2 separate regions of the Homo sapiens genome follow, and region 1 is linked to region 2. Evidence: promoter capture Hi-C in 16 types of primary human blood cells and fetal thymus (Javierre and others, 2016). All regions are on one chromosome and are shown on one strand. The core of a region is centred on a gene start or on the middle of the fragment in contact, and the rest is flanking DNA. Distances in the headings are between cores, read along the strand shown. Region 1 overlaps PAXBP1-AS1 (PAXBP1 antisense RNA 1). Region 2 holds the start of IFNAR1 (interferon alpha and beta receptor subunit 1).

Evidence for each region. Contacts are between HindIII fragments. The CHiCAGO score rates a contact against its expected background, and 5 or more counts as called.
Region 1: a contact is called between a fragment that was not itself captured here and the fragment with the promoter of IFNAR1 in region 2, in 1 of 17 cell types (fetal thymus). The highest score is 5.4, in fetal thymus.

Annotation. Positions count from the first base shown.
Region 1 is chr21:32,728,436-32,731,486 of GRCh38, forward strand. It overlaps PAXBP1-AS1 (PAXBP1 antisense RNA 1), which reads left to right. Exons shown (of 4, transcript NR_038879.1): 1 at 1-2,226. Among named protein-coding and RNA genes, the nearest start is that of PAXBP1-AS1, 1.8 kb to the left of the region's middle. The HindIII fragment of the contact is 2,944 bases long and covers 1-2,822 here.
Region 2 is chr21:33,323,567-33,326,537 of GRCh38, forward strand. It overlaps IFNAR1 (interferon alpha and beta receptor subunit 1), which reads left to right and starts at 1,404. Exons shown (of 11, transcript NM_000629.3): 1 at 1,404-1,565. The coding sequence starts at 1,490. RefSeq lists promoters at 108-1,391, 745-1,415, enhancers at 428-1,330, 618-827, 1,048-1,097, 1,331-2,232 and cis regulatory regions at 836, 1,327-1,336, 1,393. The HindIII fragment of the contact is 6,325 bases long and covers 1-2,323 here.

The DNA.
Region 1 (3,051 bases), core at 101-2,600, 600 kb before region 2:
TGGCGCCTGAAGAGCTGTCCATGGTGTCGACAGCCCAGCAAACGGCACCGAGTTCCTAGTCTGAGTGTCTGGATAGGTAGCAGAAGAAAAACTAATGCCTGCTCTGGGACAGTTCTGTTCGGTGCCTTTTCTTGTGTGTTCTGGAGCTCACAGGGTTCTATCGAAGAGTGCTTAGGTGTATACGATGGAGAGTGGGACGTCACAAACCAGGATCTCAAGGCTGAGTCCAACAAAACATGGCCGTAGGGAGGCCACGACAGCTGTGGTTGTCACCGACGGATGAATAGCTTTTGCCAACCGTGGAATTTAGTAACTAAAGGCACCTAACCCTTTTATCTCATCCTCATTTTTCAACAAATGGTGCTTCCTGGCTAATATCAGCGTGTCCCATAGATTTCTGCTTCCATTGAATAGACCTAATAAGAAAGAGAATGAAGTCAAAGCCAACAGGGCAGAAAGAAATTGAAAACCTGAAGAACCCAGCACTCAAACTGTCTCCACTTGCGTTTGCTTTTTCTTTACCTCTTCTCCTTCTGGTTTTCAACAGCCAAAGCAGGATTTAAATTTGGTTATGTTGCAAAAATCATTTCCCTCTTCAGGCCCTGTCATGTGACTTGATTTTTTCGTCCATTTTAGAGAAGCTGTACCCACCCTGGTTTCAGGACACGGAACTAAATTTATTAGAAAAGAAGCCACTTCAAGTCATGAAGGAGAAACACAAAGATTCTTGGATTTAGTTCTAAGAACTAGAGGGGATTTCTATGTCAGTACTGTCTCAGAAAAAACTGTTGATATCAAATGTGTTGCTTGAGAAGTACCTTTTTTTTTTTGAGACGGAGTCTCGCTCTGTCCGCCCAGGCTAGAGTGCAGTGGCGCGATCTCGGCTCACTGCAAGCTCCGCCTCCCGGGTTCACGCCGTTCTCCTGCCTCAGCCTCCCGAGTAGCTGGGATTACAGGTGCCCACCACCACGCCCGGCTAATTTTTGTATTTTTAGTAGAGACAGGGTTTCACCGTGTTAGCCAGGATGGTCTCGATCTCCTGACCTCGTGATCCACCCGCCTCGGCCTCCCAAAGTGCTGGGATAACAGGCGTGAGCCATCGCGCCCGGCCGAGAGGTACCTTTTATGACAACTGAAATCATTCAGTTTCAAGAGGAGTTGGGTACTGAAACCAAACTTGCTTACTCCAAAGCCCAAAATCCTTTCCACCATGCCTGTGTGTCTGTAAGGCTACACTAGAAATGCTTCCTTTCTTATAGTGGGAAGCATGGGTACTAAGCTCTTTTACGAACAAGTGTTCTGCATATTCCTGGTTCCTTTTTATTTTGGACTGAGGAGATTTAGGTCAAAATTTCTGGGTTCTGGGTTGGAATTCCAGCTTCTTTCTTCAAATTAAACTGGGGGGTAGCAAGACTTATTCCTAGATTTGTTAGAAGGCCACAGCTTTTCCACATCTCATTTTAGTCATGAAAAAGACACATGCCCAGAGTTTGAAAAACATAAAGGCAATTTGACTAGTGGCTTGATTGGTTCTATCTTCTTTTTCTTGTCCCTCTTTCCTATTTATACTTCTACTTTTGTTACAGCATTTGACAATAGTTGGAAAAATTTTCACTGACCTTGAAATGTCTTTGGGATAGGGTGACTTAAAATATAGGTTAAGTGGCATACACAAACTTCTTAGTGAGATCCTAAGGGCCTACAGAGACAGGCTGACACCAACTCAACCCTTGAAACTGTGCAATGAAGAGCCTGTGGGAGGCTAAAAAACGCTACTTCAAAAAGAGATCCTTGTCTGTGAATGTTAATTTAGGTTTACAGATTTGATTAAGGGTCTTGAGATTATTTTCAATTATCCAGGTGGGCCCTAGAGCCCTAGATGCAATCATAAGTGTCCTTATAACAGGGAGGCAGAGGAAAATTAAACACGCACACAGGAGAGAGAGAGAGAGAAAAAAAAGTGATGTGAAGACAGCAGCAGAGATTGGAGCGATGTGGCCATAGCCAAGCTATGTCAGCAGCCATCAGAAGTTGGAAGAGGCAAGGAAGGATTTGAGCCTAGAGCCTTTGGAAGGAGCATGGCCCTGTTGGTTCTGGCCTCCAGAACTGCAAGAAAATACATTTTTGTTGTTTTAAACCACCCAGTTCATGGTAATTTGTAACACCAGCTACAAGAAATTAACACAAGGCTGATGTGACTTTCCATCAGGAGAGAGACAGCCCCAGGTAGGTGTTTCAGATATCACATCCAATAGAACAAATTAAAGACAAACACCCTAAATTCTAGATGTTGATTTGTGAGCAAGTTATTTCTCCTATGGGCAACTCTAGTTGAAATATGCAATTCATTATGTTGAAACATGGAATTGTTATTTTCATAGGTTAAAAAAAAATCACATAGTGGCAATATAGTAGTAGTGCTCGTTTTTTGTTTTTTGTTTTTTTGTCAAAAATGCTAGACAACATGGAAGATCAGGGAAATATTAACAGTCTGATTCAGTAACCTTTAACAGCTTCTTTTCAGGTTACACAGGCTAAGCTAACTTTTATATCAGGATCAGGATCTGCAGAGTTATTAGTATAGTGCTCTGCAGATCCTGGTCCTAGTATAGCAGGATCTGCAGACCCTAGTTGTACCTGGCCATGTTCCCCACCAATGACTGAGAAAGAAATGGCTCGAACAGAAAACAGTGGTCTTGAAAGGCAACGCAACAGTAGGTTACAAATAGCATTAGCTTTTTCTTTAAAGAAATTCATTGTAACCAGTGAAGGATAAGATTTTAAATTAGAAAAATGGAAATCCTATGAATAAAAAACTAGTAAGCTTGAGAGCAGAATCACTGTGGAAAAAAAACAGATTGAAAAATAACTTGCAGGTATCATAGACAGGAAATTGCCACTAGAGAAAACAGGAAACTTGTGATAGATAAAAATGAAGTATTTTCATTTGGAACAAGAGACCAACTGAAGAGAGATCAAGTGAAGGGGGTTTATTTTAATGAAACACAAAGATTCTTGTGGAAATCAAAGTGCCGGAGCCAGAAACAGGGC
Region 2 (2,971 bases), core at 154-2,653:
TGGCATATAGAGATGGCATATAGAGATGGAATATAGAGATGGAATATAGAGATGGAATAGATATGGAATATAGAGATGGAATAGATATGGAATATAGAGATGGAATAGAGATGGAATATAGAGATGGAATATAGAGATGGGATATAGAGATGGGATATAGAGATGGGATATAGAGATGGGATATAGAGATGGGATATAGAGATGGGATATAGTGATGGAATATAGAGATGGGATATAGAGATGGAATAGATATGGAATATAGAGATGGAATAGATATGGAATATAGAGATGGAATAGATATGGAATATAGAGATGGAATATAGAGATGGGATATAGAGATGGGATATAGAGATGGAATATAGAGATGGGATATAGAGATGGAATATAGAGATGGGATATAGAGATGGAATATAGTGATGGGATATAGAGATGGAATATATAGATGGAATATAGAGATGGAATATATAGATGGAATACATATATATTCCATTGCATTGTTCTTTACAAACATTCATTTAATTATGTAATTGCTAATTAATTGCTTGGTTGTTATAACAACGAAGTATTTGATTCCTTATTTTATCTCATCATTTAAATTTTATTTCGCATATTTTCACAATGCACTGGATCTATTACTGAGGAATTTAATTAAATAATCATTCGAACCATGGGCTCGAATTGTTTACTGATAAAGCCCGACGACCAAAACAGCCTAGCGACTGCTGTTTGGAGCCCCTCGGCCCAGGGCCCGTGGCTGTTCTCTCCAAGGGACCATCTCGCCCCTCAGCCAAGTCGCCCGGAAAACGAGCGCTCGACCGCCTCTGCCCCGCTCTCGCTCTGCACACAGCAACGGTCTGGTCGCTCAGCCACTTCCTCCTTCCAGCCTCATCTGGTTCCCAGGCCGCTGGGGACTCCCAACGCCACTGTCCAAGACTCTAGGGTCAGCAAGCGCCCCGGGCGGAGAAGGGCGAGGACGAAGAGCGCCGGGCCGCGACCAGGAGCCCACCCGCGCCCTCCGACTGCAGACATGGGGAAGAGACGCGGGAACTCCAAAGTCGCTGGGTCTGCGCAGGTGTGTGCCGCGATCCTGTGAAGGTCAAGGCCTCCTGTGAGGGGGAGTCGTCCTGGAATGCGATGGTGAAGTGCTCCAGACCGGCCATAGGCCGGAAAGAGTGAGGAAGAAGAGAATGCAGGAGGCCTGCGATTTCTAAGGCGCGCGCGCACAGGGGTGCTGCAATTAGGATGGGGCAATGGGAGCTTGGAGAAGGGGTGCTAGCTAGGAGGAAAGGCGCGTGCGTGGAGGAACGGCGCGTGCGCGGAGGGGCGGTGTGTGTGTCAGAAGAGGCGGCGCGTGCGTAGAGGGGCGGTGAGAGCTAAGAGGGGCAGCGCGTGTGCAGAGGGGCGGTGTGACTTAGGACGGGGCGATGGCGGCTGAGAGGAGCTGCGCGTGCGCGAACATGTAACTGGTGGGATCTGCGGCGGCTCCCAGATGATGGTCGTCCTCCTGGGCGCGACGACCCTAGTGCTCGTCGCCGTGGCGCCATGGGTGTTGTCCGCAGCCGCAGGTGAGAGGCGGGGAGGAGAGTCTTGGCGCAGGGCGGGAGGTAGGGCACGCAGCTGGGCTACGGGGGCGGCGATGCTGTTGGGGGCGACAGACGCCCAGTCTGGGAAACCTTCGGTCCACTTTGCCGCGCCAAAGATTAAACCCGACCTGGGCTCGCAAATCAACCAGGAGAAAGTGGTGTTCTGGGTCCTCTCTTGCCGCTTGCCTGTGGCCGTGTACGGGTCCTCGGGAGCGCCCGGGTCCCACCCCCGTGAAATGGCGGTGCCAGAGCTTTGTGTCGAGTTTGATTCTTTCCGGGAAAGTACCGCGGCTCCGCTGGTCTGTTTGATAATAAACAAAACATTTCCCGAAATGCATTTCCTCAATCTGGTGAATAGGCGCCCAGTCCCACGGGGGAGTGAGCTAAGTGTGGCCAGGATTTCTCTGCCCTCAGGATTCATACAGGCCAATAAAAAATGACAGTCGGAGTGACTGAAGCATAATTGTCAGTTCTCGAGGTTTACTAAGCCTGCTTCAGGGCGCATCCGGGAAAAACGTGAGCCACAAACACGTCTGTGACTGGTTTTCCAGAGGTTTTCAGGAGGTGGGGCAGGAAGGCAGTAAGGCAAATAGTTCTGTGAGAATTTAGTTAGTGCCCAAGAAATCTGTATTTTAAGATACCATGAGTGTCTTGAAGAGAAAAAGAGAGTAAAGGGAGTCAGTTATGCAGATGCCTCTGGGTAGATGGAGTCTTGACTTTGTTTTGCACCTGAGAAGATAAGCTTGTAATTGACATGGTCAGTGTGGAAGGCCTGAACTAGTTTTTCAGATTAACTTTGGAATGCCATTTGTTGAGAGGAGAGGTCCATTCACATTGTTGGGGGGCTTAGAATTTTATTTTTGGTTTACTTAACTACCTACTTTTTTCCCAAAGAAATAATCATGTTCAAAACTCAATGAAATGTTATCTCAATGAGATTGTAATGTTGCTCAGTCTTTCAGAAGTCATAAAAATAGTCATACTTTTTAAACTAGTAAATGCAATTCTAGGACCCAAGACTAAGAAAACTGTCCAAAATATGGGAAGACATTTTTATTTATACTTTTTTTTTTTTTTTTTTGAGACAGCCTGTTGCCCAGGCTGGTGTGCAGAGGCGTGATCTCAGCTCACTGCAACCTCTGCCTCCCAGGTTCAGGCGATTCTCCTGCCTCAGCCTCTTGAGTAGCTGGAATTACAGGTGCACGCCACCACATCCGGCTATTTTTTGTATTTCTAGTAGAGATGGGGTTTTGCCATGTTGGCCAGGCTGGTCTCGAACTCCTGACCTCAAACAATCCACTTCAGCCTCCCAAAGTGCTGGGATTACAGGTGTGAGCCACCACGCCCGATCTATTTATGTTTTAGACTTTAGTTTTAGGAACTAGACT